Linked DNA regions of Homo sapiens: regions 1, 2 and 4 are each linked to region 3. Evidence: promoter capture Hi-C in 16 types of primary human blood cells and fetal thymus (Javierre and others, 2016). All regions are on one chromosome and are shown on one strand. The core of a region is centred on a gene start or on the middle of the fragment in contact, and the rest is flanking DNA. Distances in the headings are between cores, read along the strand shown.

What was found. The method cuts DNA at HindIII sites, captures the fragments that hold promoters and counts their contacts. A CHiCAGO score of 5 or more calls a contact.
Region 1: a contact is called between a fragment that was not itself captured here and the fragment with the promoter of SLC68A1 in region 3, in 2 of 17 cell types (activated CD4 T cells and endothelial precursors). The highest score is 6.2, in activated CD4 T cells.
Region 2: a contact is called between a fragment that was not itself captured here and the fragment with the promoter of SLC68A1 in region 3, in 2 of 17 cell types (endothelial precursors and erythroblasts). The highest score is 7.2, in endothelial precursors.
Region 4: a contact is called between a fragment that was not itself captured here and the fragment with the promoter of SLC68A1 in region 3, in 1 of 17 cell types (endothelial precursors). The highest score is 5.2, in endothelial precursors.

The regions. Positions count from the first base shown.
Region 1 is chr10:102,133,544-102,140,981 of GRCh38, forward strand. PPRC1 (PPARG related coactivator 1) reads left to right here. Exons shown (of 14, transcript NM_015062.5): 2 at 4,307-4,495; 3 at 5,076-5,222; 4 at 5,336-5,437; 5 at 5,557-7,438. Among named protein-coding and RNA genes, the nearest start is that of PPRC1, 4.2 kb to the left of the region's middle. RefSeq lists silencers at 1-19, 50-169 and an enhancer at 4,695-5,894. The HindIII fragment of the contact is 1,458 bases long and covers 3,404-4,861 here.
Region 2 is chr10:102,182,974-102,189,428 of GRCh38, forward strand. No RefSeq gene overlaps it. Among named protein-coding and RNA genes, the nearest start is that of NOLC1, 34 kb to the left of the region's middle. The HindIII fragment of the contact is 2,363 bases long and covers 2,214-4,576 here.
Region 3 is chr10:102,455,866-102,463,144 of GRCh38, forward strand. It overlaps SLC68A1 (solute carrier family 68 member 1), which reads left to right and starts at 5,530. Exons shown (of 10, transcript NM_024789.4): 1 at 5,530-5,585. LOC124902493 (a long non-coding RNA gene) reads right to left here. Exons shown (of 3, transcript XR_007062270.1): 3 at 4,928-6,195. It overlaps C10orf95-AS1 (C10orf95 antisense RNA 1), which reads left to right. Exons shown (of 3, transcript NR_038938.1): 3 at 1-428. RefSeq lists enhancers at 1-282, 283-870, 5,049-5,118, 5,246-5,929, 5,930-6,612 and 1 more and a silencer at 5,389-5,608. The HindIII fragment of the contact is 5,189 bases long and covers 1,783-6,971 here.
Region 4 is chr10:102,199,901-102,207,264 of GRCh38, forward strand. No RefSeq gene overlaps it. Among named protein-coding and RNA genes, the nearest start is that of ELOVL3, 23 kb to the right of the region's middle. The HindIII fragment of the contact is 1,949 bases long and covers 1,836-3,784 here.

The DNA of each region.
Region 1 (7,438 bases), core at 2,883-5,382, 320 kb before region 3:
GGCGCCGCAGTTCCCTTTTCGGAGCCACGTGGGGTTGGGGGAGCAATTTTCCCGGGAGAACTTGTCTGCCTCCCCTCCCCCTCTAGGCGGCCCGGGCATCCACGTGGGTCGGGCTCCTGGTGGAGGGGGGCGCAGGCAGCGGGTCCACGTGGGGGCGGGGAAGGAACGTCCACGTGGCTCCCGTCCCAGGCTGTCGGGCATCTAGTATCGGCCTTGGAGCCTGGCTGACGCGAACTGGGTGTGTCTCCACGGGTCCCGCCATCTCCTGCCGGGGCTGGAGGCCCGGGCCGGGAAGGAAGGTAAGGGCTGCTAGAGTCAACTTTGTTCAGAGCCTTGGAGGTTTTTTTTTTCCCTGCTGCTTGGGTCCGCAACGTCTCTCCACTGCGGATGGTGAAGGACTCTCCAGATGTTGCGGGAGTTTGTTCCCTGCGGATGGCTGAGTGTGATGGGGAGGGTAGAGGGCTGAGGCTGAAGGGTTGTGGAGGAGTGAGTTTGTGGCGCTTCCGTCTGACCGGCTTGGGGTGGGTTGTGAGTCACGGGCATTGGCGTTTTGGTTGCCTTGCAGTCTTGCCTTATTAGTGATTCAAGGGGTATGGGGAGTGTCAACATACACCTGGGACAAGGTTAAGAAAGGGAAAGGGAATCCTCTCCTCACTTTTTCCTCCAGCATCTCTTTTGGGAAGGCATGCTCCTGTAATCTGACACGCAGAAACTGGGGTGGTCCGTACTTAAGGCTCTTCGGATTTTTTGCTGGGGATGGGAAAAGTTGGAGGCGGTTTGAGAACTGTTCAACATGTTCAACAGTTGAACATACACTGGATGAGGAGGATTCTGTTAGATATTTTTTTCTTGGCCTTCAAAAAGTGTTATTGTTCTACTCTACAGTGGAGGGCTTCTTAAAAGTTTCCACCCAGGGTAGAAGGGGCAGGAATTAGTTTGAACTGTTACCTCTCTTAAACAATTAAGCTGAGTCCTTGACAGCATTTTTTGTGTGTTACTAGGTGGGAGTTGGGCTGCAGGCTGCCTGGTAATATCAGGTCCGGCAGACCAATCCAGGCCCTTGCCCAGGGGAGAATGGTTTCTGGGGCAAGAATTTGGGAGCGCTGATCCCTTCTCCCCTACTTTCTCAGAGGTCACATCTTTTGGGGCTGGTGCTGCCTACCTACCAGAGCCCCAGGGTCTAGGCCAGAATCTCAAGGCAATGCCCAGCTCTCTATGAACCATTCATCTTCACCTCCATCAGGTGTCCAGTCAGAGACACACCCTCACACCTGACCTCACCCATCACTGAATTCCCAAATAGCACAGGGAGAGTCAGGAAGGATCCAAGATCCAGCTATAATAGTTAAGTAGTAATTTGGGATTGGAGAGGATCTCATGGAGAGATTGTCATTCCCTTCCCCCGAAAACCAAAGATGGGTATATGTGAGCTGGTCAGTCAGCCAGTTATTTATTGAAATACCATTATGTTTAGGCACAGGGGACAAACTGGTAAACCACATAAACATGGTCTTTATCCCTCAGGATCTATGTTTTAATCAGGATAGACCGATGATAAATAATAATGAATGAGACAAAAGTGCAGGATATTTGGGATTATGTAATTGGCAGTAGTGATCTACTTTGCAGAGTCTGAGACGGGACATTTAAAGCTGAGATGTTAAAACTGTGGAAAACCTTTAATCAGGGAAAAGTGAAGCCCTCAAGGAGGAAGAGAGCATGGCTTATTGGAGAAACCGAGACCTGTACTACAGAGTAGTGGGAGAGGACACGCTGGAGCAGAGGTCTGGTGGGGAAGACAGGACTTTTGTAAGCTATATATATATATATTTTGTTGTTTTGTTGTTGTTTTTGAAATGGAGTCTTGCTTTGTCACCCAGGTTGGAGTGCAGTGGTGTGATCTTGGCTCACTGCAACCTCCATCTCCTGGGTTCATGCAATTCCCCTGCCTCAGACTCCTGAGTAGCAGGGATTACAGGCAAGCACCACCACACATGGCTAATTTTTGTATTTTTAGTAGAGACAGGGTTTCACCATATTGGTCAGGCTGGTCTTGAACTCCTGACCTCAAGTGATCCACCCACCTCAGCCTCCCAAAGTGCTGGGATTACAGGCGTGAGCCACCACACCCGGCCTGTAAGCTATATTAAAGAGTTTAAACCTAATGCTAAGAGCAGTAAAATGCCATTGAAGGGATTTAGGGAGGGTCTCAGGCAGTGATCAGATACATATTTAAAAAGTTTCTGACTGTTTTTGAACCCTGGAGGGAGCAGGTTTGGTGGGTGAAAGCTACTTGGGAGGTTTTTGAAGTTAGAGGTGCTGATGGCTGGCTTACTTTCAGCCTGGGCTTAGCACTCGGATGATCTTGGTACTCTGGGAGCTGTGCTGTTTGGGAATTGAGTGATGGGTGAGGTCAGGTGTGAGGGTGTGTCTCTGACTGGACACCTGATGGAGGTGAAGATGAGTGGTTCATAGAGAGCTGGGCATTGTCTTGAGATTCCAGCTTAGTCGCTGGGGCTCTGGTAGGTAGGTGGTGGCAGAGCAAATGGAGTTGCAGCCTCTTGGCTCACCCTGGAGTGTTTGCAGAGCCAGGTGCTATTCAGCTGCTGGTTTGTAATTATAGGATTGTGAAGGCCTGGGAGGAGTTAGTGCCTAAAACCTACCACTTTTTGCTTATTCTCTGGGCCTGGCCTCCTAACGCGTCCTTAACCAGCCTTTCCTTTTCCTGGGCGTTGGTACTCAGCTCTGTTAGGAGGGTATATATTGCCGGGGTGTGGGGGGTGGGGGTGTGGAAGACACCTGTTGCTTTTTTCTTTTGGAAGTGGTGCGGAATTTCACTTTGTTGCAGAAGAGGAAAGGGAAGGTCTGGCCTGTCTGTATGTGATCCTGTTCTCAGGCCTTTTTACTTCATGTTTCCTATGCGGTAGTTTCCCCTTATCCACAGTTTCTGTTAACCTGCTGTCAACTGGGGTCTAAAAATACATGAGTACAGTACAGTGAGATATTCTGAGAGCCAGAGAGCCCACATTCGCATAACTTTTATTATAGTATATTGTTTTAATCTATTTTATTATTAATTTCTTATTGTGCTTAATTTATAAGTTAAACTTCATCGTTGGTATGTATTGTTTGTATCAATACATACCAATGTATTGGTAGTATCTGTGGTTTCAGGCATCTACTGGGGATCTTGGAATGTATCCCTCTAGGATAAGGGGGGACTACTGTAGTGGAGATCCCCCTGGCTCTGGCCTCACCACTACCATTCTGGTCCCTTCCGGCCCTGCCCACACCCACACTCTTGACAGGTCTGGGCGGGCTGCTTGATGCCTGACACGAGAGGCCGTAAATGCTGCTAGTTCTTAGAGGAGTGTGGGGCGGGGCCTTTCCATCTAGGGAATCAAGCTTTCTCTTCACTTGCTCTCATCTGGTAGGAGTGGAGAAGAGGCCCTTCCCTTGGAATTACCATTGAGAGGTTGAGTGTCTCACTGTTGGGCCTTCAAAATAAGTGTCGGCCGGGCGTGGCGGCTCACGCCTGTAATCACAGCACTTTCAGAGGCTGAGTCGGGCGGATTACTTGAGATTTGGAGTTTGAGACCAGCCTGGCCAATAAGGTGAAACCCTGTCTCTACTAAAAATACAAAAATTAGCTGGGCGTGGTGGTGGGCGCCTATAATCCCAGCTGCTCCGGAGGCTGAGGCAGGAGAATCGCTTGAACCCAGGAGACCGAACCCATGAGTGTCATGGGGATGGGGGTAGGGGGTGGGGTGTGATTACCAGAAAAGTTAATGCTGCAGAAAAGTCTGTGATTTTAGAGTTGTGAGGAGAGATCACCGTGGGCTGGGGAAGCTGGGGTGTCTTCTTGAAGAAGGTAGGATTTGCACTAAGCAGAGAACTAAATGGGATTTGAGGTAGGTGAGGTTGTTGGAGCTGAAGCTGTCTCCTTGCTGACCTCTTTTGCTTTGGTGTGCCCCTCAGACTGTTATCTTCACTGCTGCCAGTAGATGATTCTGAACAATCTTGATTTTCCTGATGTTTTTACTCCCGGGTTTTAATCTGTGACTCTAGCTGTTTCTGGTTGGAGCCCAAACATTTTTCTGCCCCAGAAGGTCCCTGAAAACTGCCATCCTTATTGGGGTTTTTGCTCATAGGTTGTGCTTCTCTCTGCTCTGCTAGCCCAGAAGTTTGGCGACAGTGTTGCTGCTGCTGAGTTTGGCCCCAGCAGTGGAGGGTACCTGATTTATGGAGCATATTATCAGCTGCTGCCAGAGAGCTCATACCCTTCTCACCTTCTTCTCTGCTCCAGGTGCTGCTGCATGAGGAGGCGGGTGATTCTGGCTTTGTCAGTCTCTCTCGGCTGGGCCCATCTCTGAGGGACAAGGACCTGGAAATGGAGGAGCTAATGCTGCAGGATGAGACACTGCTGGGGACCATGCAGAGCTACATGGATGCCTCCCTTATCTCCCTCATTGAGGATTTTGGGAGCCTTGGAGAGGTGAGCTGGGGCTGGACTCTGAAATCTTCAAGCAGGAGGTTTACATGGGAGGTTCTAGCTCAAATTCTTGGCATGGCTCTGCTCTCCCAGGACCTTAGCTTCTTCCTGGGTGCCCAACCTGAATCCTTGAAGTGTATTTTTTGTCTCTAAGTGGGAATTAGGCTGCAGGCTGCCAGATTATGTCCCATGTAAGAATTCCTTTCCTAGCTTAGACTATAGTCCAAGGCCTTTCCCACTGTCTGGGCCCCTGAACTACATGTCCAGAGGATTCTGATCTCTGTTTTTCAGCTCATTTCTAGCCTAGCCGATGGTTGTCTGCTGAGCATCCCACATCTTATCTGAGGGTAGGGGAATGTGTGAAACCCAAGCTTGAGTCAAGTCTGACAGGTCTCTGTTGACACCAAGAGCTGGTGGATGGTAGCTGAGATTGGAATCCATGCCTTCTGGTATTCAGATCCTTCTCGCTGCCCCATTAGCTGAGTTGAACCTGGGAGACTGATTCTCTCGATATCCAGTCCTTAGTGGCATAGTAGGTCATTAGGGATGTTGGTAGGACCTTCTGGTTGTTTTTCTGGAGCAGAGCAGGTTATCTCTGGAGGACCAGAATGAAGTGTCGCTGCTCACGGCTCTGACGGAGATCTTGGACAATGCAGATTCTGAGAACCTTTCTCCATTTGACAGCATTCCTGATTCGGAGCTGCTTGTGTCACCCCGGGAGGGCTCCTCTGTGAGTGTGGGACCAGGGGAAGGGGATTAGTACAAAGTTTAGACCCATGCCTGTGGACCTACTCATATAGCTCTGAAGCATAGACTGATCTCAGGTCTTTCTTTCCCTCTTAGCTGCACAAGCTGCTTACTCTCTCTCGGACACCCCCAGAACGTGACCTCATCACCCCAGTTGACCCACTGGGGCCCAGTACAGGCAGCAGTAGAGGGAGTGGGGTAAGCCTGACCTAGAGGGTTTCAGAAACTCCCAGGTGGGAGGAGGAGTGTGTGGGGACAGGTCTGGAAAATACTTTCCCAAAGAAAACTCCTCCTGAGACCTCTCTTCTCTCCTGCAGGTTGAAATGTCTCTTCCAGATCCCTCTTGGGACTTCTCCCCACCCTCTTTCTTAGAGACCTCTTCCCCCAAGCTTCCTAGCTGGAGACCCCCAAGATCAAGACCACGCTGGGGCCAATCCCCACCTCCCCAGCAGCGCAGTGATGGAGAAGAAGAGGAGGAGGTGGCCAGCTTCAGTGGCCAGATTCTTGCCGGGGAGCTTGACAACTGTGTGAGCAGTATCCCGGACTTCCCCATGCATTTGGCCTGCCCTGAGGAGGAAGATAAAGCAACAGCAGCAGAGATGGCAGTGCCAGCAGCTGGTGATGAGAGCATCTCCTCCCTGAGTGAGCTGGTGCGGGCCATGCACCCATACTGCCTGCCCAACCTCACCCACCTGGCATCACTTGAGGATGAGCTTCAGGAGCAGCCAGATGATTTGACACTGCCTGAGGGCTGCGTAGTGCTGGAGATTGTGGGGCAGGCAGCCACAGCTGGCGATGACCTGGAGATCCCAGTTGTGGTGCGACAGGTCTCTCCTGGACCCCGGCCTGTGCTCCTGGATGACTCGCTAGAGACTAGTTCTGCCTTGCAGCTGCTTATGCCTACACTGGAGTCAGAGACAGAGGCTGCTGTGCCCAAGGTAACCCTCTGCTCTGAGAAAGAGGGGTTGTCATTGAACTCAGAGGAGAAGCTGGACTCAGCCTGCTTATTGAAGCCCAGGGAGGTCGTGGAGCCGGTGGTGCCCAAGGAGCCTCAGAACCCACCTGCCAATGCAGCACCAGGTTCCCAGAGAGCTCGAAAGGGCAGGAAGAAGAAGAGCAAGGAGCAGCCAGCAGCCTGTGTGGAAGGCTATGCCAGGAGGCTGAGGTCATCTTCTCGCGGGCAGTCTACTGTAGGTACAGAAGTGACCTCTCAGGTAGACAACTTGCAGAAACAGCCTCAGGAAGAACTTCAAAAAGAGTCTGGGCCTCTCCAGGGTAAGGGGAAGCCCCGGGCTTGGGCTCGGGCCTGGGCAGCTGCCTTGGAGAATTCTAGCCCTAAGAACTTGGAGAGAAGTGCTGGACAAAGTAGTCCTGCTAAAGAAGGCCCTCTAGACCTCTACCCAAAGCTGGCTGACACTATCCAAACCAATCCTATACCAACCCATCTCTCATTGGTCGACTCTGCCCAAGCCAGCCCCATGCCAGTTGACTCTGTTGAAGCTGATCCCACTGCAGTTGGCCCTGTTCTAGCTGGCCCTGTACCTGTTGACCCTGGGTTGGTTGACCTTGCTTCAACCAGCTCAGAACTGGTTGAGCCTCTCCCGGCTGAGCCAGTGCTGATCAACCCAGTCCTGGCTGACTCAGCAGCAGTTGACCCTGCAGTGGTTCCCATCTCAGATAACTTGCCACCAGTTGATGCTGTCCCGTCTGGCCCAGCACCAGTTGATCTAGCACTGGTTGACCCTGTTCCTAATGACCTGACTCCAGTTGACCCAGTGCTAGTTAAGTCCAGACCAACTGATCCCAGACGTGGTGCAGTGTCATCAGCCCTGGGGGGTTCAGCACCCCAGCTCCTCGTGGAGTCAGAGTCCTTGGACCCACCAAAGACCATCATCCCTGAAGTCAAAGAGGTTGTGGATTCTCTGAAAATTGAAAGTGGTACCAGTGCTACAACCCATGAAGCCAGACCTCGGCCTCTCAGCTTATCTGAGTACCGGCGACGAAGGCAGCAACGCCAAGCAGAAACAGAAGAGAGAAGTCCACAGCCCCCAACTGGGAAGTGGCCTAGCCTTCCAGAGACTCCCACAGGGCTGGCAGACATCCCTTGTCTTGTCATCCCACCAGCCCCAGCCAAGAAGACAGCTCTGCAGAGAAGCCCTGAAACACCCCTTGAGATTTGCCTTGTGCCTGTAGGTCCCA
Region 2 (6,455 bases), core at 2,145-4,644, 280 kb before region 3:
CGATCCACCTGCCTTGGCCTCCCAAAGTGCTGGGATTACAGGCGTGAGCCATTGCTTCTGGCCTTGTTTATTTTTTATTTTTATTTTTTTAAATTGAGACACAGCCCAGGCTGAAGTGGTGAGATCTCGGGTCACTGCAACCTTTGCTTCCTGGGTTCAAGTGATTCTCCTGCCTCAGCCTCCCAAGTAGCTGGGATTACAGGCACTAAGTCCCTATGCTGCACACAGCACAGGAACCCTTGGCCCAGCCCACAAAACTAATTTTTCCTCCTAGGCCTCTTGGCCTGTGATGGGAAGGGATGCTGTGAAGACTTCTGACATGCACTGGAGACATTTTCCCCATTGTCTTGGGGATTAACATTCGGGTCCTCATTACTCATGCAAATTTCTGCAGCCAGCTTGAATTTCTCCTCAGAAAATGGGATTTTTTTTTCTATCGCATTGTCAGGCTGCACATTTTCCAAGCTTTTATGCCCTGTTTCCCTTTTAAAACTGAATGCCGGCTGGGCGCGGTGGCTCACGCCTGTAATACCAGCACTTTGGGAGGCTGAGGTGGGCAGATCACGAGGTCAGGAGATCGAGACCATCCTGGCTAACACGGTGAAACCCTGTCTCTACTAAAAAATACAAAAAATTAGCCGGGCGTGGTGGTGGGCGCCTGTAGTCCCAGCTACTCGGGAGGCTGAGGCAGGAGAATGTGTGAACCTGGGAGGTGGAGCTTGCAGTGAGCCGAGATTGTGCTACTGCACTCCAGCCTGGGCAACAGAGCAAGACTCCGTCTGAAAAAAAAAAACAAAACCAAAACTGAATGCCTTTAACAGCACCCAAGTCACCTCTTGAATGCTTTGCTACTTAGAAACTTTTTTCCACCGGATACCCTAAATCATCTCTCTCAAGTTCAAAGTTCCATAAATCTCTAGGGCAGGGGCAAAATGCTGCCAGTCTCTTTGCTAAAACATAACAAGAGTCACCTTTGCTCCAGTTCCCAACAAGTTCCTCATCTCCATCTGAGACCACCTCAGTCTGGACCTTATTGTTCATATCACTATCAACATTTTTTTTTTTTTGAGACGGAGTTTCGCTCTTGTTGCCCATGCTGGAATGCAATGGTGTGATCTTGGCTCACCACAACCTCCACCTCCTAGGTAAGTGATTCTTCTGCCTCAGCCTCCCGGGTAGCTGAGATTACAGGCATGCACCACCACGCCTGGCTAATTTTGTATTTTTAGTAGAGAAGGGGTTTCTCCATGTTGGTCAGGCTGGTCTTGAACTCCCGATGTCAGGTCATCTGCCCGCCTCGGCCCCCCAAAGTGTTGGGATTACAGGTGTGAGCCACCATGCCTGACCCATTATCAGCATTTTTGTCAAAGCCACTCAACAAGTCTCTAGGAAGTTCCAATCTTTTCCACATTTTTCTCTCTTCTTCTGAGCCCTCTAAATAGTTTCAGCCTCTCCCTGTTACCCAGTTCTGAAGTTGCTTCCACATTTTCAGGTATCTTTTCAGCAACACTCCACTCCTGGTACTAATTTACTGTATTAGTCCATTTTCATGCTGCTGATAAAGACATACCTGAAGCTGGGCAATTTACAAAAGAAAGAAGTTTAATGGGCTTACAGTTCCACATGGCTGGGAGGCCGCACAATCACAGTAGAAAGACAAGGAGGAGCAAGTTACAACTTACGTGGATGGCAGTAGGCAAAAAGAGAACTTGTGCTGAGAAACTCCCATTTTTAAAACCATCAGATCTTTTGAGACCCATTCACTATCACCAGAACAGCACAGGAAAGACCCACCCCCATGATTCAGTCATCTCCCACTGGGTCCCTCCCACATCTTATTGGAGCTACAAGATGAGATCTGGGTGGGGACACAGAGCCAAACATATCACTGCATGTTCTCACTTATAAGTGGGAGGTAAATGATGAGAACACATTGGCACAAAGAGGGGAACAACAGACACTGGAGCCTACTGGAGGGTGGAAGATGGGAGGAGAGAGAGGATCAGAAAAAATAACTAATACTAGACTTTATACTTGGGTGAAGAAATAATCTGTACAACAAACCGCTGTGACAAGTACAAATTTGCTTATATAACAAACCTGCACATGTACCCCTGAACTTAAAAGGTAAAAAACAAACAAATGAAATCAACCCAATAGTTCCAGAGACTATTGTTTTGGATAAACATAAAAATTTATCTTTCTGGTCTTAAAGCTTGAAACTTATATTTGCTTTATTTGAGTTCCTTCATTAGTAAATGACCTTCAGGCTTCTCCCCCGCAAAAAAAAAGTATCAATGAACTGAAACTCACCAGATCACTACATCCAGACAATGAGACTTTGGACCCCTCATTCATCATGATTACTTCCTTGGCCCTCCCTACTTCCTGTTTTCTTACACATTACATTTCTTCCCCTCTGTATAAAACCCTTGTTTTAGTTGATCAGGGAGATGGATTTGAGGTTTTGAGCTCCCATCTTCTCAGCTGCAGCACCCGATTAAAGCCTTCTTCCTTGGCAATACTTGTCATCTCAGTCATTGGCTTTCTGTGCAGCGAGCTGTAGGACCTAGACTGAACCCCTGATGTTTCAATAACATATTTTGGTTCCCTGACTGGGAACATGTTGCTTGTGGCTCAGCTGCCATGGGTGGAGTCTCAGAAGCCCTCTTATGCAGCTGCCTGACAAATTTTATTTTATTTTATTATTTTATTTTATTTCCTTTGAGATGGAGTCTCACAGTGTCACCCAGGCTGTAGTGCAGTGGCACAATCTTGGCTCACTGCAACCTCTGCCTCCCAGTGCTATAGGAGTCAGAAGAAATCACTTGGGCAGATAGCCAGGGTACGGGAATCCTCAGTAAGGCTTTTCTTTTTCTTTTTTAATGAAAAGCTGCCCCAAATCATTTTCTAACAAAGAGCAGCCTGAAACCTGGGAGTTTGCAAGGGTGAATGCCAGCAGGAACTAAGGAGTAGACATGTTCAAGATAGCGACTTCATCTTCCCTTCTCTGCCAGTCATGTGTACTGTAAGGAGCAGACCAGATGGTGTCGATCACCTCGCCTCTACTAAAAATATAAAAATTAGCTGGGCGTGGTGGTGGGCGCCTATAGTCCCAGCTGCTCAGGCGGCTGAGGCAGGAGAATTGCTTGAACCGGGGAGTCAGAAGTTGCAGCGAGCTGAGATCGCACCATTGCACTCCAGCCTGGATAACGAGAGCAAAACTCTGTCTCAAAAAAAAAAAAAAAAAAAAAGAAAAAGAAAAAAAAAACAGATGGTGTCGATCAACTGGAAAGGCCATTTGCGTAACAAGATTAGGGTGGGGCAACCAGCCTTTCCTGAGCACTATGTAAACGTCATAGCTGATCAAACCAATCTGTGAGCCCTATGTAAATCAAGACACATTAAAACAGTCCACACTAAATCAGACACTGCCTCCTCAAACTGGTGTCTTCACTACCAGCCAGTCCTTTCCATTCGGAGACCTCTTCTTCTATAGAGGAAGCTATTTCTCTTTTCTCTTCTACCTATTAAACCTCTGCTCCTAAACCCCTTGTGTGTGTCTGTGTCCTAAATTTTCCTGGCCTGTGACAATGATAAATATATACCTGAGGGCATATACCCCAGACAATGTAGCCACTTCACCAGGTTCAAGTTATTCTCCTGCCTCAGCCTCCCCAGTAGCTGGACTACAGGCATGCACCATGCCCATCTATTGACCAATATCAGCTGGAAGTGAGTTTCAGTTTCTCTCTGGCCCCACCATGGTCAGCCCCAACCATCCTCCTGATTGCCTTGGAAGAATAGCCTTCGAAATTGGACATCTGCATCCAGATAGGTGAGTATCCTTTGTGGGCCCAGACAGCAGGATTTGCTCCTCTCAATTTGGGAAATTTTTAAAAGAATTTTCATTTGCAGGTTGAACAAGCCCAACTGACTGAGGGAGGGAAACACCCTGACTGTTTTTATGTGGACACTCTTGGGGGCTAGTTTATAATTGTATGTTGTGTCTGGGCAAGTGAGTGCCTCGTGTGTGTACCAGACAGCGGGATCAGTTCCTCTCAATTTGGGAAATTTCCTAAGGAATTTTTGTTTGCATTTGATCAAGCCCAACCAATGAAGAGAGGAAGCACCCTGACTGTTTGAGTTTGGACACTCTTGGGGCTTGTTTTTTGCTGCAGCAGTTGGATTGTGTTTTGGTGATCATTTGTGTGTGTTTTATATAGTCATGAGAAGTTAGAATTCGGTAAACTGATATTCATTTGCAATACTGTTGGCCCCAGTGTTGTTTGGAATCTGGCGTTTGCTGTTTGGAATCTGGAGTTTGCTGCTGAATGGGAAAGTGGGATGGAGTTGTGTGTATCCAGGCTTTTGTGCTGCTGTTCTAAGCAAGGTTGGGCCTGGCAGGTATGTGATGTTCTCCTTTGTTGCTGTTTGACCCCAATGTTCTTTGGAGTCTGAGGAGGTTTGGCCTTTAAAAATCAAACTGCCATGGAAACTACTATACCCAAAATTTTGATTCACAGCCTTCACTGAATTACCTACTGGGACAAAGTGTAACCATGTAAAACCAGTAAGCTTGTATTGCTATCTCATAGCTATAGTTCCAAGGTAAAAGCTATTGGATCTTTGTTTATGTGTGTATATTCATGTTTAGATGTGTTTATTTGTATGTACCCTTATTGGTATATGTTGTGTCTACCAAATTGGCTTATAAGTAAAACAGCACTCATAAATTAAATAAGTCAAAGCAATTTTCAAGTTCGTGTGAGTTAAGTAAATTTTTTCGAAACCAGCTGGCTGTAAAATTATTGGTAAAATGAAAATAAAAATGTCTTCAAAATTGTGAGCATACATTTTTGTCTGGATTTTATATTTGTCTCTGGTAGATATTTTGAGGTTTCAGGGTTTGGCATAGAAGGTTATAAAATTATAAACCCAGCCAAAACAAATGATCTTCATGAAAATTTTTTGAAAAGTAGTATTACGGGATCACTGGATGTCAATTTTTCTGGCCAGAAACCTCTGTGGCCAGTGGTGCTTTGCCTGAGTTCTTGTCCTGCGTTCAGGAAGAATGAGGTACTCAGGCAAGTGAACCAGACAAAGAGGAGCTTTATTTAGTATTAGAGCAGCTCAGGGGAGACGCACAGTGGGTAGCTCCTTTCTGTTACTCGTTGTCCCAACGTCTGCTGCTCTCAGCAGAGAGGAGGCCCTGGAGAGGACAGCTCCTGTCTGCTACTGGTCATCTTGACGTATGCTGCCCTCAGCAGAGAGGAGGCCCTGGAGAGGATGGCTCCTCTCTGAAGCTGGTCCACGCAATGTCTCTTCTGGTCTCTGAAGCTCTTAGCAGAGAGGGTAGCTCCTTTCTGCCAGCTGGCCATCCCATTGTCTCTAGCTATCAGCAGGGGGAATAGCTCCTCTCTGCATTTGGTCCTCTTGTTGTCTCCCCAACCTCTGCCCTGCTGTGGCTGAGCCCAGGGCTTTTATGTGGCTCGGGGAAGGGAGTGTGTGCTGACTGGTCCACAGGAAAAAGCACCATGAGTTCCTCCTCCAATCAGCAGGAATGGCAGCCTGGCCCCCACACTTCAGGCCTGTCCTGGCATGAAGGTGGGGCTTCACTGGGGACTTGCCCCCTTCCACCCAGGAGCCTGTCTGCCTTCCACAGCCATCCATAGTGCCCAGGCTGCTGGCACCAAGGGGCACCTGCAGGCCAGCACCAGTCACTCTCAGCCCCTCTCAACTTCCCTTCCTGCACTCCTCAGTGCCCAAAGTCCAGAGGGGGGCAGGGCAGCAGGGGACTGGCGTGTCAGCACTGCCCTGAGCTTGCACACACCTGGCAGCACTGTGACAGCCCCTGGACTTGGCCCCAAGCCTGGTCCAAGATCAGAGTGGGCACCGGGAGCAGGGAAAGGCCAAGCAGCAAGAGCAGGGAGAGGCCAAGCAGCAGGAGCAGGCAACTCTGAGCCTACAAGGGCAAGGAGGGGGCCTTTTCAGGCCCCCCAAGAGTGCAGGGATGCCTGGGTCTGCAGCCCCAATTTGGGCGGCTGCAGCACCCCACAGCGGGGTGGGGTTCCTGCCTGCTCTGTGGAACTGGAGGCCTGTATCTGGAGCTGTGGACCAAGTTGCTGCAGCTGCACCCAGGAAGGGATGGATCCTGCCTGCTCCTGGCCCCAACAAGAGCACAGGGAGGCTCAGATCTGCAGCGAACACCTGTAGTCCCAGGTACTCAGGAGACTGAGGCAGGAGAATTGCTTGAACCTAGGAGGCAGAGATTGCAGTGAGCTGAGATTGTGTTACTGTGCTCTAGGCCAGGGAACAAAGCAAGACTCTGTCTCAAAAAAAAAAAAAAGACTTTTGTCAACCACAATCGATGTTTTGCTTTGATTCTTCTCAAAAAGTGACTTACAATCAGCTACAGTCCAGGGCTTGCTTCTTTGGAGGAGTTCATTAAAAGG
Region 3 (7,279 bases), core at 4,280-6,779:
AATGTTCATAATGTCACCCCGGAAACCTGCGAATATGTTATATTACATGACCAGGGAGAAGTAAGGTTGCAGATGGCAGTAAGGTTGCTAATGGGCTGACCTTAAGATAAGGAGATGATCCTGGATTATCTGGGTGGACCCAATGTAATCACAAGGGTCCTTAACTGTGGAATAGTGAGGTGGCTGAGTCAGAGGCAGAGTGATGCAATGACTGAAAGACTTAACCAGCCATCACCGGCTTTGAATACGGAAGACGGTCATGAGCCAGGGAATGCAGGCAGGCTCTGGGAGCTGAAAAAAGCAAGAAAATGGATTCTCCCCTGGAGCCTCCAGAAGGGATGCGGTCCTGCCAACCCCTTGTCAGTGAGCCATTTCAGATTTCTGACTTCCAGGACTGTAAGAAAATAAACTTGTCTTGTTTTCAGCCACCAAGTTTGTGGTGATTTGTTACAACATCAGTAGGAAACTAATACACCTCCCTGCTCCTGTTTATAACTTCGTCCCTGTCCTAAAATCCCAGCACCTGGGAGTATTCACGGCTATCCATGGACTGACCACACCCCAGCCTGGAGTTCAGTAGTGGACCCATGGCACTGGCCAGGTTTTCCATCTCTTCTGGGTGGAGAGTGGGGAGCAAGCAAGACGAAGCTCAAGTGGAGCCTGGGAAGGAAATTTTCAGGCAAAATGAGAAAAATAATGGCCAAGCTGTGAGTTTCTCAGTATTTGTTCACCCTGATTCCAGTGCCAGTCCCCAGTATTTTGAAGTCCCACACCTTATCTATTCTCAGGAAAGTAGTTCTGGTGGAGTTGAATCTACTGTATCCTTAGGTTTGGGTGATTTAGGGCTAAGCCTTTCAGCACAGCCATCCCTCTGGCCATAGTGATTGACTTGGGCTAGCCCTTGACATGATATGGGCCAATGCAAGTCAAGCCTAGGACTTTATTTTCTTGTTGGGTGGAGGGGATTTTCTGCTTTTCCCAGGACAGAAATCAGAAAGGGTCCTGGACTTAACTTACACAGGCCAGTAAATTCCTTCTTTATTTAAGCTAGTTTAAATGGTCTATTGCTTCCACCAATGATACACCCCAGGATATTTCCTAACCGTCCCCCCCCCCGCCAGCACTTTGTTATGAATTATGAAAAAAAATTTTTTTTTAGACGAGTCTCTTTCACCCAGGCTGGAGAGCAGTGGTGTGGTCATAGCTGGGCTCAAGCAATCCTCCCACCTTAGCCTCCTGAGTAGTTGGAACTACAGGTGTGCCTCACCACATTCCACATAATTTTTAAAAATTTTTTATTTTATTACTACTTTTTGAGACAGAGTCTCACTCTGTTGCCCAGGCTGGAGTGCAGTGGCGCGATCTCGGCTCACTGCAACCCCCCGGGTTCAAGCGATTCCCCTGCCTCAGCCTCCCGAGTTGCTGGGACTATAGGCGTGTGCCACCGTGCTCGGCTAATTTTTTGTATTTTAGTAGAGACGGGATTTCACCATGTTGGCCAGGATGGTCTCGATATCCTGACCTTGTGATCCGTCCACCTTGGCCTCCTAAAGTGCTGGGATTACAGTTGTGAGCCACTGCACCCGGCCTGATTTTTTTATTTTTTGAAATTTTTTATAGAGATGGAGTCTCACTATGTTGCCCAGGCTGGTCTCCACCTCCTGGGCTCAAGCGATCCTCATGCCTCAGACTCCCAAGGTGCTAGGATTACAGATGTGAGCCACTGCATCTGGCCATGAAAATTTTCAGTATATAGCAACCTGAGAAGCTTTTGCTCAGGGAAGCTTGCGATCGGAAACTCACTTGAGGGCAAAATGGAGGACAGATTAGAGAGCGTGGGGGTGGAAGCTAGTCATGGAGGAGGTTCTCGTGTTAGCTTATGAAAGCTGAGAACCAAACAGGAGCAAGGGATGGAAAAGACAGATGGGAGTAGGATTCACCTGGACTTGATCCAAGATGGTGGTTTTGATGAAGTGCGTAGGATGGAGGGTGGATGCACATGTTTCCGCCTTGGCCACCTCAATGGACAGTTAAGGCAGTCCTGGAGGTAGAAAATGCTGGAGGGAGATTGGAAGTTTAAGGAATGGTGAATTCGGATGGGCCATTCTGGATATTCTCTTCAGGTTGGACATGGGAGGTGTGGAAGTAGTCATGAAGGAAAAGGTACTAGGTGAAATTACCGTAACAGCTGCCACCCTGGGCTTGTCTCCATCTGGTCCCTATCACACTATTGACATCTTGGCTGCCAGCTTGTTTGGACCCCACTCAACGCCTCTTGCAGGTAGCTATCTTGTTTTTTTTATTTTTTGAGACAGAGTCTTGCTCTGTCAACAGGCTGGAGTGCAGTGGCGCGATCTTGGCTCACTGCAACCTCCGCCTCCCGGGTTCAAGCGATTCTCCTGCCTCAGCCTCCTAAGTAGCTGGGATTACAGGCATCCATCACCGGGCCTGGCTAATTTTTTGTGTGTTTTTTAGTAGAGATGGGGTTTCACCATATTGGCCAGACTGGTTTCAAACTCCTTACCTCAGGTGATCCGCCCACCTCGGCCTCCCAAAGTTCTGGGATTACAGGCGTGAGCCACCGCACCTGGCCAGCAATCTTGTTTTTGAAGTCCCCTTTACCTCACAGCCTGTGGCCTGGCATGGATTAAAAGTTTGAGTGAGTATATGAGTATTCAAGATGGAAACTTGGGACACCCTCCCTTTTCCTTTAGAGGCCCTGGGAGAAAGTGCCGCAGTGAAGGGGACTGAGGAGGAATTATTAGGTAGGAAGAGAACATGGCAGAAACTAGATCAGAGAGGTGGGAAGTAAAGGGAGGAGAGAATTTCAAAGACAGAGAGTGCACAATCTATCTGTCCCATGGTCCAGGGACTCCGGTATGGCTCAATGAGTTAGGGAGGTGATATGGCCTCTAGTTCATTGCATTTCCCCTCCCAGTTAGCTCTGTGACTGGCAACCACAAAGAGAAATCAGACAGAATCACAAGGCCCTGCCCTGATGCTGACATAAAAGGTAACTGGCTACGTTGTCTATATAATCAGAGGGTTGAGGGGCCTCAGAGTGTAACTGTGGGGCATTAAGTGCAACGTGAGAGACCAAAGGTCTTTTCTTTTTTTCTTTTTTCTGTTTTTCTTTTTTTTTTTTTTTTAGCCAGAGTCTCACTCTGTCGCTAGGCTGGAGTGCAGTGGTGCAATCTTGGCTCACTGCAAATTCCGATTCCCTGGATCAAGCAGTTCTCCTCCCTCAGCCTCCTGAGTAGCTGGGATTACAGGCACACGCTACCACGCCCAGCTAATTTTAGTATTTTAGTAGAGATGGGGTTTCACTATGTTGGCCAGGATGGTCTCGATCTCCTGACCTCGTGATCCAACCACCTCAGCCTCCCAAAGTGCTGGGATTACAGGTGTGAGCCACCTTGCCTGGCTGTGAGGGACCAAAGGTCTTTTCTCCTGGGTCACATCCAGCTCTGGCCCCTGCCAGCCCTCCCCATTTCCATTTCCCCACTGGATACCCAGGGAGGGCTAAGTAAAGACTCGGGTTTGCTTTGAAATAAAAGCACATGCTGGCCACAGATAGAAAGGCGGGGAGACTCCTTTAGCAAATGTATGGAGATCCCAGTGTGCCGGACCCCAGGCTGAATGCTGGGTTTTCTGTTCTCACAGCCAGGAAAGCACAGATGGAGGTAAGAGGTGAGGAGAGGGACAAAATGATCACCTGTCTTCTACTCATGAGGCTTTCTGGATCAGGAGGAGTTTCAGCAGTTGTCTAAGTCTAGAAGAGAGATGGTTGTATGTATGTGTGTGCGTGTATGTGTGGCTTGGGGTGACATGGGAAGTGTGAAGGGTGTCCGAAAGAGAGAGATTGGGAAGGAGGGAAATGAGACAGGTTAGTGGGAGATGGATTCTGGGGGCAAGGTTCATGGCATCCCTGGGGGCTCCTCAGGAACTGGTTGAATAATCTGTAGCCCCTGGACACTAGGCGTCTACATTGGACCATTTGCTGTGGTTGTTAGGAGGAGGACAACATTCCTGTTGCAGGAAGTTAGCCGACAACCATCAATGAAGGTCATAAGGATGAGCAGTTCACAAAGCTCCTACACCCTTGTTTCTCATTTAATGTCTGAAAAATCCCTGTAAAGCATAAAACAGACTCACAAAAGGAGGGTCCCAGCCAGGTGCAGTGACTCACGCTTATCATTCCAGCACTTTGGGAGGCTGAAGCGGGAGGGTCCCTTGAGCCCAGGAGTTCAAGACCAGCCTGGGTAACATAGTGAGACTCCATCTCTACAAATAATTCTAGAAATTAGCCAGGCATGGTGGAGTGAGGTGGTGGTCCCAGCAACTTGGGAGGCTAAGGTGAGAGGATCATCTGAGCCAGGGAGGTGGAGGTTACAGTGAGCTGAGATCATGCCACCACTGCACTCTAGCCTGAGCAACAGAGCAAGACCCTGTTTCAAAAAATAATAATAAAGAAGTCCCTTAGCAAAGAAGTGTTGGAGCTAGGGGTTGAGTTCCAAGTCCCCCATAAGGCAAAGGCCACAGGCTTTTTGCCCTGTGTCCCAAGGTAGGGGAACCAGGCAGAGCTGGAATGTGTGCTGTTTGCTTGCCCAAAAACCTATCCAGGCTTACAGGCCAATTGGGAGAAAACATAAAACATCCTCCACAGCCTACATTGAGCCAAACAAAACTTGATTTTGAGGGATTGTGCAGGTGTGGGAAGAGGAAAGACTCTTGTTATGGGAGTCAGGATAGCGGGTTCCACCTCGACTGGGCCCTTGCTGTTTGCGTGTCATTGAATCTCTCTGAAATGCAGTTTCTTCACATATAAAATGTGGATAAAAGCGCCTACCTCCTAGGAATGATGTGAGGACTCAACAAGAGAATGCACGTGTTGTTCTGAATGTAGTACGGTGCACATAGCAAGCACTCAGTACTCCTTAGGTTTTATTATTGCCGTTATTAATACAAAGAGGTTGTGCTGCATGGTTGCTCATTCAGGCCCTGGTGGCTGTTTCCCACCTTCAGCCCTGGCTCCTGTGGCTAGAGCCCTGGTGCCCACAGCTCAACCTGGACCTGTCCACCCTTGAAGGGCTCATGATGCAGCATCAGGGAGTCCCAGATCGAGCCGCTGACACCTCCAAGTCGGCTGCAGCTGTGCATCCGCTCAGACCACAAGACTCAATGGAGGATGCTGACCTCTCTTTGTTCTCCCAACGAGTACTAGGCAAGGAGGGAAGGAAGGTGAGCGCTTAGAAAAAACGTGTTGGTTTCAACTGAAATGACATTAAGCTATCGTGGAGGTAAAGGAGAGGGGTTGAGCCGGTCAGGAATCCAGGCAACCTGACCCTATTTGCCAGTGTCCGCTTTTAATTTTGGTCGCTAAGGGCAAGCGCCCGTGACAAACATGGCGGCGGCAGCCTCAGGCGCAGTCACCTGCCGGAGCTGCGCCCGGGGGCCGCGCGGAGCCAATCGCTGGGCGGGGGCGGAGGGAGAGGCTGGGGAAGCCCTAGAAGTGCGCGCAGGCGCATTGGCTCGCACCTGGCTCCCGCCAGCCGTGGGATTAGGCTTCGCCGGCTACGATTGCGGTGAGACGCTGGCCAGCGGCCGGGGCTCGCGGGCAGGAGCGGGCTGGGCTGGGGCCGATCTGGCACAAACGACAGACCCGAGGGGGAGGGGAATGCTTTGCGCTCTGGGAGTCATGGGGGCTATCTGCGGGGGTCTTTGGGGTGATCATATTGTGGATTGGGAGAGTTGTGTGGTCCGGGCGGAAGAAGCGGGGTTCAAGGGGGCAAGGGTGGAATCCTCGCAGAAAGGCTCTCCGGGGGTCTGGAGGAAAGGGATGCAGTGGGTCAAATAGCTCCCTGGTGGTCTGGGATCGAGGGATGCACTGGTCAGGTCGGGATCCGTGCCATTAGCATAAAGGCATTTAACCCTGGTGGCACTTGGGGAGCTTTGAAAAACACCGATGCTGGGCCCGCCCGAAGAGATTCCGATTTAACTGTTCTGGGTGAGGCCTGGGCCTCGGTATTATTGCACAGCTCCTCAGGTGATTTTAACGTGCAGGCGGTGGGGAGCAGCCCTACACGTGTTTCAGCACCAGCTATTGAGTGAAGAGCTCCTGGGCTGATCCCAAACTCCTCAGTGGCTTGGGAGGGGTGGGTGGTCCTGAGGTGAAGCTGTCGCCTCTTCTGGGACCTGTGGGGGAGGGAGAGGGAGAAGGTCCCCATCTCAACAAGTTGAAAGCTCATTTCCAGCCGGAGGAGGAGGATGGGCCCCCACCCCCCAACCCTGGTGCTAGACCCTGCTGTGGGGAGACTGGGCAGGAAGACAAGACCCCGAGAGTGAAACAGGAAACACAGCAGACAATTCAGGGGTCAGCTGCCTGTTGAGAAAAGGGCACATATTATACCTTTCATGTTCATTTGTTCATTTGGTATTCCTGAGGATAGGCAGAGAATGGAATTGTTTTCTCTGCTTCACAGATGTAGGAATAGACTCAGATAGTAAGTTAAAGATAATGTTCACACCTGACCCAGGGCTCCTGACTCCAAATTATGCCTCTTCTTAGCTTTTACCTCTGCACTAATGTCTCTTGTACAGTCTGATACCTCTCACTCCAGGGGCCCAGTTCGGCATTCTTGGTTTCCGCCACTAAATTCATCAACCTCCCCCACCCACCATAGGTTGGTTCAGAAATCAGGGAGATGTTGCTGCTTCCATCCCTTTCTAGTCTTTACCTACCAGGGGCCTGGTAGGGTGAAGGGGAAGAGTTTTGACACCTGCTAGAGGGCTTCTTCCAAACAGATCTGTCACTTCCCCACCCCCAGCGCCCCACCTGTTGTCCTCAGCATAGAATCTTGCACAAGGTTTACAAAACCCTTCCTGATGTGGCCCCTTTCTCCCGCGCTGCTCTGAGCTCTCTTCCCAGATTGTTTCTGTGTCTCTTAGCACAGTGCTGTGCACCCGGCGAAAGCTTAATAAATGTTCCTCTGTTATGATCACTATTCTTCTTTGTACCTGCTGCCTTGCTTTAGTGTCTTACTCAGAGAGGCACATCAAGCCTCCCAGGCTGCCCCTTCTCTCTGACTCCCACAGTTAAGCAGAACACAGAGCTAGGAGGGGCACAGTGGGGTCTGAAGATGACAGTTTTCCTATGACTGCTGCTGCTGTTCCCTAGGGCTGAGGATGTTGTTGATATTGACCTTTTAGGGGCCAATCGACCCAGCAGGGATTGACTGAGCAAGCTGAGGGAGCCTGGTGGAGGCAAAGGGCAGGGATC
Region 4 (7,364 bases), core at 1,560-4,059, 260 kb before region 3:
TGTTTGGAGTTTCTTCCTTCTGGTGGGTTCGTGGTCTCGCTGGCTCAGGAGTGAAGCTGCAGACCTTCACAGTGAGTGTTACAGTTCACAAAGGCAGTGCGGACCCAAAGAGTGAGCAGCAGCAAGATTTATTGCAAAGAGCAAAAGAACAAAGCCTCCACAGTGTGAAAGGAGACCCGAGCAGGTTGCCACTGCTGGCTGGGGCAGCCTGCTTTTATTTCCTTATCTGGCCCCACCTACATCCTGCTGATTGGTGCATTTTGACAGGGTGCTGATTGGTGTGTTTACAATCCCTGAGCTAGACACAAAAGTTCTCCAAGTCCCCACAGAGCACTGGTTGGTGCATTTACAAACCTTGAGCTAGACACAGGGTGCTGACTGGTGTGTTTACAAACCTTGAGCTAGACACAGAGTGCTATTGGTGTATTTACAATCCCTTAGCTAGACATAAAGATTCTCCAAGTCCCCACCAGATTAGCTAGACACAGGGTGCTGATTGGTGTGTTTACAAACCTTGAGCTAGGCACAGAGTCCTGATTGGTGTATTTACAATCCCTTAGCTAGACATAAAGATTCTCCAAGTCCCCACCAGATTAGCTAGACACAGGGTACTGATTGGCGCATTTACAATCCTCTAGCTAGACATAAAAGTTCTCCAAGTCCCCACCAGATTAGGTAGGTACAGAGCACTGATTGGTGCATTTACAAACCTTTAGCTAGACACAGAGTGCTGATTCGTGCGTTTACAATCCTTTAGCTAGATGTAAAAGTTCTCCAAGTCCCCACCAGATTAGCTAGATACAGAGTGCTAATTGGTGCATCCACGAACTCTGAGCCAGACACAGAGTGCTGATTGGTGCATATACAATCCTCCTGCTAGACATAAAAGTTCTCCAAGTCCCCACCCGACTCAGGAGCCCAGCTGGCTTTGCCTAGTGGATCCCTCGCCGGGGCAGCGGGTGTACGCCTGCATTCCTCAGCCCTTGGGCGGTCGATGGGACCAGGCACTGTGGAGCAGGGGGTGGCACCTGTCGGGGAGGCTCAGGCCATGCGGGAGACTACTGCAGGGTGGGGGCTCGGGCATGACGGGCTGCCATTCCTGAGCCCTGCCTTGCGGGGAGGCGGCTGAGGCCCAGAGAGAATTTGAGCATGGCACAGGCGGGCTAGCAGTGCTGGGGGACCCGGCGCCCCCTCTGCAGCTGCTGGCCCAGGTGCTAAGCCCCTCACTGCCTGGGGCCGGCGGCGCTGGCCGGCCGCTCGGAGTGCGGGGCCTGCCAAGCCTGTGCCCACCTGGAACTCGCCCTGGCCCGTGAGTGCCACATGCAGCCCCGGTTCCCGCCCATGCCTCTCCCTCCACACCTCCCTGCAAGCAGAGGGAGCTGGCTTCGGCCTCGGCCAGCCCAGAGAGGGGCTCCCATAGTGCAGCTGCAGGCTGAAGGGCTCCTCAAGCACGGCCAGTGAGGCCGAGGAGGTGCTGAGAGCCAGCGAGGGCTGCGAGGGCTGCCAGCACGCTGTCACCTCTCACTTTCACTGCCTGAATTTCCTCTGGGGACTACTGCAAAGGATCAGGTTCCTCTTCTTGTGACTTGAGATACAGGATCTTTGTCTTTTGAGCACATGAGTCAATCCATAACCTCCAGTAGCCAGTTAAACCTAAAAATTTTCAGAGTTCTTTCTTTGTCTTAGGCAGAAGCCCACTATTCCTGGTATTCTTTCTGGGTTTATTCTCCACCTCCCTTCATTAATCAGGTATCCTAAATATTTAACTTATTTTTCTACAAACTGCAATTTGTTCTTAGAGATTTGCAACCCCCTTTCTCCTAGGGAATTAAGCAAGCTTATGGTGGTTTCTGATACTTTGGTCTTCCTCTCCCTAGAAATTAAAAGATCATCTACATATTGTAATAACTGGTTTCCCCTGGAAGGTTGGAATTCCTTCAGGACTTTTTCTAAGATTTGACCAAATAAGTTTGAGGCATCTGTGAAGCCTTGTGGCAGCACAGTCCAGCAGTACTGTTGTTTTCTGCCAGTTATGGGATTTTCCCATTCAAAGGCAAAGAGATCCCTACTCCTAAAGTCTAGGGGACATCTTTTCTTTCCTGCTCCTCTGTTAGGAGGCCCATCATTACTTTTATTTGTCCTTCCTCTATTCCTAATCCTAAACCCAATCTCACAATCAGGTCTCAACTCAGGAGGTTAGTTGCCTGCTTCAGGAACATATAAGAGTGACCCCTCTATTTGTTCTGGTCCTAATCTAATTACCATTTTCTTGAATATCAGAACCTGAAATCCCTCCCCTTTTACCCCTGATACTGTCAATTTTTCCTTCGAGTCCTGTACCCCTTGGTTGATTAATTAGGAAGGAGAGAGACAGCCCAGTATCAAGCAAAAATGTTACTTCTTCCCCATCGGGTCCCACCCTCAAATTTATCAAGAGTTCCTGGTGGGACCTACTTACAAGGAACCCCTGACTCCCTAATCTTCATCAAAAGTCATACAGTGGATTACTTCTCTTCCTTTTTCCATTCTGGACATTCTCTTTTAAAATGTCCTGGTTTTCCACACTTGTAACATCCACTTACAGTCTTAGGAGTTTTTCCTTGTATTTCTCTTCTGTCTTTTTGCTGAAACCTAGTATTTTCTTGTCTCCTCTGAGAGGGGTCTTGATCTAACTTCTTCCTGACTACCTCCTCTGCAGTGGAAACCATTATTTTCGCTTTTTGTTTCTGTTTCTCCTCTTCTCTTCTCACAAAGATCTTTTTGAGCTTCCCTCAGTAATTCCTCAATTGATTTTTCATTCCAACCATCAATCTTCTGTAATTTTTTTGTAATGTCAGGCTAGCTCTTAGTTACAAAGTTAACATTCAAAAGGCCTTGCCCTACTGGGGCCTCCAGATCTAATCCAGAGTATTTTCTCATCTGATCTCTGAGCCTCTGCAGGAATGCAGAGGGAGTTTCCTCTTTTTCTTGTTGAATCTTTGAGACATTTGAGACATTTTGTGTCCTAGAAGTCAATTATTTGATCCCTTTAATTATTAGTTCCCTGAGGTCCTGCATTTGGGCCTGGTCCCTGGGATCATTATTATCCCATTCGGGATTGACATTTGGAAATTTTTTGTTTGGCTGGCAAGACTCCTTTCCTCGGAGGATGTTGCCTCTTCCAGATGGTCATTGCCACCCTCCTAATCATTCCTCTTTCTTCTCCTGTGAATAAGATATTCATGATAGGCATTATTTCAGTCCAGGTATAAAAGCTGGTCCTAGGAATTGGTACAACTTGTCTGCTAAATGAAGGGGATCCTCTAGGAGTGGTTTCATTACCTTCTTGAAATTCCTAACTTCAGTACTTGTAAGAGGAGCGTTTACAAAGCCAATCTCTTTCTGTCCTGTGGGAACTTCCCTAAGAGGGAACATGCTAGATGTTTGCTGTTTGGAGGGGATAGGGAAGTTCTCAATATCTCTTTTACATTATTCTAATTCTTTTCTTAAATTTGGATAAGGGTCTAAAGGAGCAGTTGGTTCAGCTCCCCCATGGTCTCCAGGTCTTTCTTTCTCTAACTCTCCTGCTGCCCCTTGATCTCCCTGTCCCCTATTTTGTGAGACATATGGAGGGGGCTCCCATGATAGGGGGTCCCAGGGCTTTTCACTGGGCAAGGGCTTTTTACTAGGCTCTTTTTCTTCTTCTTTGAGGGGGGAACATGGGGGCTAATTCCTTGATCCCACAGACAGCATAACCTATCTTCTCCTGTGCAGATGGGGTTTTATCATTCACATAGAGAATTAAAGCTTGGCACACCCAATCCTCATCTGAGCCAACCTTAGGCCAAAAGACTGAAGGCTTATGAATGGGGTCTTTGGGTCAGGTAAAACAGCAATACTTTATCAACTTTTGCTTTTCCTTGTCCCTGGCTGCAGGGTTGTCCCTCCAAACCTGCAACATTCATTCACCCCAAAGGACTATCTGGGGGAATGTCAGAGGGAGTCTCTTTGGCTCCCTCTTTCCTTTGTCCCTAGGCCTAGAATTTCTGTTTCCCATTTTTGGCCAGTCTCTGTGTCTGGGCCTTTCCCTATGTACTCAACCCTCCTACTGGAGGTTTCTTGCACACCCTGAGAATCGCTTCATCTGTTTCCTGCCGATTCCCTCGCAGGAGAACGGAACTGTGGATTGGGACTCCGTGCTTGCTTCGTATCTAGGGTATGTCTCAGTCACACACACTCAACCTCCAAAAATGCCCAACCACCAAGGTGGTACTTACAGTCTGGTTTTCCTACCTTGGCTCATGCACAAGGTTGCCTGGTTGCCATAGTGTCTGCTTTTCTCCCTATGTCACCTCTGCTGCCTGCTGAATAACAATCTCAGGTTTGTCTATGGCCTATGTGGGGAGCTGGGACACCTGCACAGAGCGGGCCACCTAAAATTGGGTGAGATGTGTCTCCCCTCTTGGCTGGAGTCCCATTCCATGCAGGCACAGAGATCCTGGATGAGCCCCCAAGTTTGTGAGAAACGCTCACCTGTCCAAAATCAAATAATGGACTCAGAGACAGGAAGTGCAGCAGAAGCAAGACTTTTAATGGCAATCTTGCAAGATCAGATGTCTGGTAGGCAGGCACACCTGGGGCAGTTACAGCAGGTAATTTATCTCCTAGCATGCAAGTCTTTCCCCCAGTTCCTTACTGGTTGAGTACTACAGGGTTACAATCTTCCCAGACGTCACCTAAGTTTCATTATCCCCTTATAAGGTTATACTCTGGTCCCCTTCCCTGCCTATGTTTCAACTTCCCAATAATGAAACTTTCTCACCTTTTATGGGCTGACCCTTCTTCTACATCTTGTTCTCTTATGATGATTTTCTAGGTGCATGAGCCATTCAGTTTGTCACATCTGCAGGGTGGCTGCTAGTACATAGATTTATCATGCCCTGAAAATGAACCATTTAAATGTTTTTTCACAATGGCATATACCCTAAATGCCCTGACTTGATCATTACATATGCTATGCATATAACAAAATACCACATGCACCCCATAAAAATGTACAAATATTATATATCAATAAAAAATTTAAAAAAAAAGAAAAAGGGAGAAAGATGTTGAATCTACAACCACACTTTACAATCTAAGGAAGTAGAAAAAGAAAAACAAATGGTAGCAGAAAGAAAGAAATGAAGACTAGAGCAGAGATAAATGAAATAAGAAATAGAGAAAACAATAGAGAGAATCAATAAAAACCAAAAGTTGTTTGTTTGAAAAGATCAACAAAAGGCTGGGCTCGATGGCTCACGCCTGTAATCCCAGCACTTTGGGAGGCTGAGGTGGGCGGATCACGAGGTCAAGAGATTGAGACCATCCTAGCCAATATGGTGAAACCCCATCTCCACTAAAAATACAAAAATTAGCTGGGCATGGTGGTGTGTGCCTGTAGTCCCAGCTACTTGGGAGGGTGAGGCAGGAGAATCACTTGAACCCGGGAGGTGGAGGTTGCAGTGAGCCAAGATAGTGCCACTGCACTCCAGCCTGGCGACAGAGAGGGACTCTGTCTCAAAAAAAAAAAAAAATGTTCAACAAAATTAACAAACCTTAGGCCAGATGCAGTGGCTTACATCTGTAATCCCAGCACTTTGGGAGGCCAAGGCAGGCAGATCACCTGAACTCAGGAGTTTGATAACAGCCTGATCAACATGGTGAAACCCTGTCTCTACTAAAAATATAAAAATTAGCTGGGCATGGTGGTGCATGCCTGTAATCTCAGCTACTCAGGAGGCTGAGGCAGGAGAATCACTTGAACCCAGGAGGTGGAGGTTACAGTGAGCTAAGATCGTGCCGTTGACTCCACCCTGGGCAACAAGAGTGAAACTCTATCTAAAAAAATAAAAATAAAAATAAAATAAAATTAGTGGTGGTCCACACCTGTAATCCCAGATACTCAAGAGGCTGAGGTGGGAGGATCGCTTGAGCCTGGCTGGTTGAGGCTGCAGTGAGGTGTGCCACTGCACTACAGCCAGGGTGACAAGAGTGAGACCTTGTCTCAAAAAAAAAAAAGAAAAAAAGGCCAGGCGTGGTGGCTCATGCCTGTAATCCCAGCACTTTGGGAGGCCAAGCCGGGTGGATCACCTGAGGTCAGGAGTTCGAGATCAGCCTGGCCAACATGGTGAAACCCCGTTTCTACTAAAAATACAAAAATTAGCCAGGTGTGGTGGCAGGCGCCTGTAATCCCAGCTACTTGGGAAGCCTGAGGCAGGAGAATCACTTGAACCCAGAGGTGGAGGCTGCACTGAGCTGAGATCACGCGATTGCACTCTAGCCTGGGCAACAAGAGTGAAACTCCGTCTCAAAAAAAAAAAAAAAAAAAAAAGAAATGCCTAGAATAGGCAAATTAATACAGACAGAAAGTGGATGAGAGCTTACCAGGAGCCAGAGGGAAGGTGCAATGGTTAGCTGTTGCCTCACAAGTACAGAATTTCTGTTTGGAGTGATGAAAAAGTTTTGGAACTAGTCAGTAGTGATGGTTGTACATTATGAATGTAATTAATGCCACTTAAGAATGGTTAATGTGCACATGTACCCTAAAACTTAAAATATAATTTAAAAAAACAACAAAAAAAAGAATGGTTAAAAGGGGCCAGGCATGGTGGCTCATGCTTGTAGTCCCAGCACTTTGGGAGGCCGAGGCAAGTGGATTACGAGGTCAGGAGATCGAGACCATCCTGGCTAACATGGTGAAACACCGTCTCTACTAAAAATACAAAAAAAGTTAGCCAGGCGTGGTGGTGGGTGCCTGTAGTCCCAGCTACTAGAGAGGCTGAGGCAGGAGAATGGCGTGAACCTGGGAGGCAGAGGTTGCATTGCGCCGAGATCGTGCCGCTGCACTCCAGCCTGGGCGACAGTGCTAGGCTCCGTCTCAAAAAAAAAAAAAAAAAAAAAAGAATGGTTAAAATGGCAAATTTTATGTTATACATTTTCATCACACAAAACAAAGACACTTTGGCAGCTGTAAAGAAACAAGACTAGCCGGGCACAGTGGCTCACACCTGTAATCCCAGCACTTTGGGAGGCCAAGGCAGGTGGATCACGAGTTCAGGAGATTGAGACCATCCTGGCTAACACGGTGAAACCCCGTCTCTACTAAAAATACAAAAAATTAGCCAGGCGTGGTGGCGGGCGCCTGTAGTCCCAGCTACTCGGGAGGCTGAGGCAGGAGAATGGCGTTAACCCGGGAGGTGGAGCTTGCACTGAGCCGAGATTGCACCACTGCACTCCAGCCTGGGCGACAGAGCGAGACTCCGTTTCAAAAAAAAAAAAAAAGAAACTAGACTCTAGGTTAAGGTTACTGAAGTAATCCAGGCTAAAGATCATCTTCTGTTTGT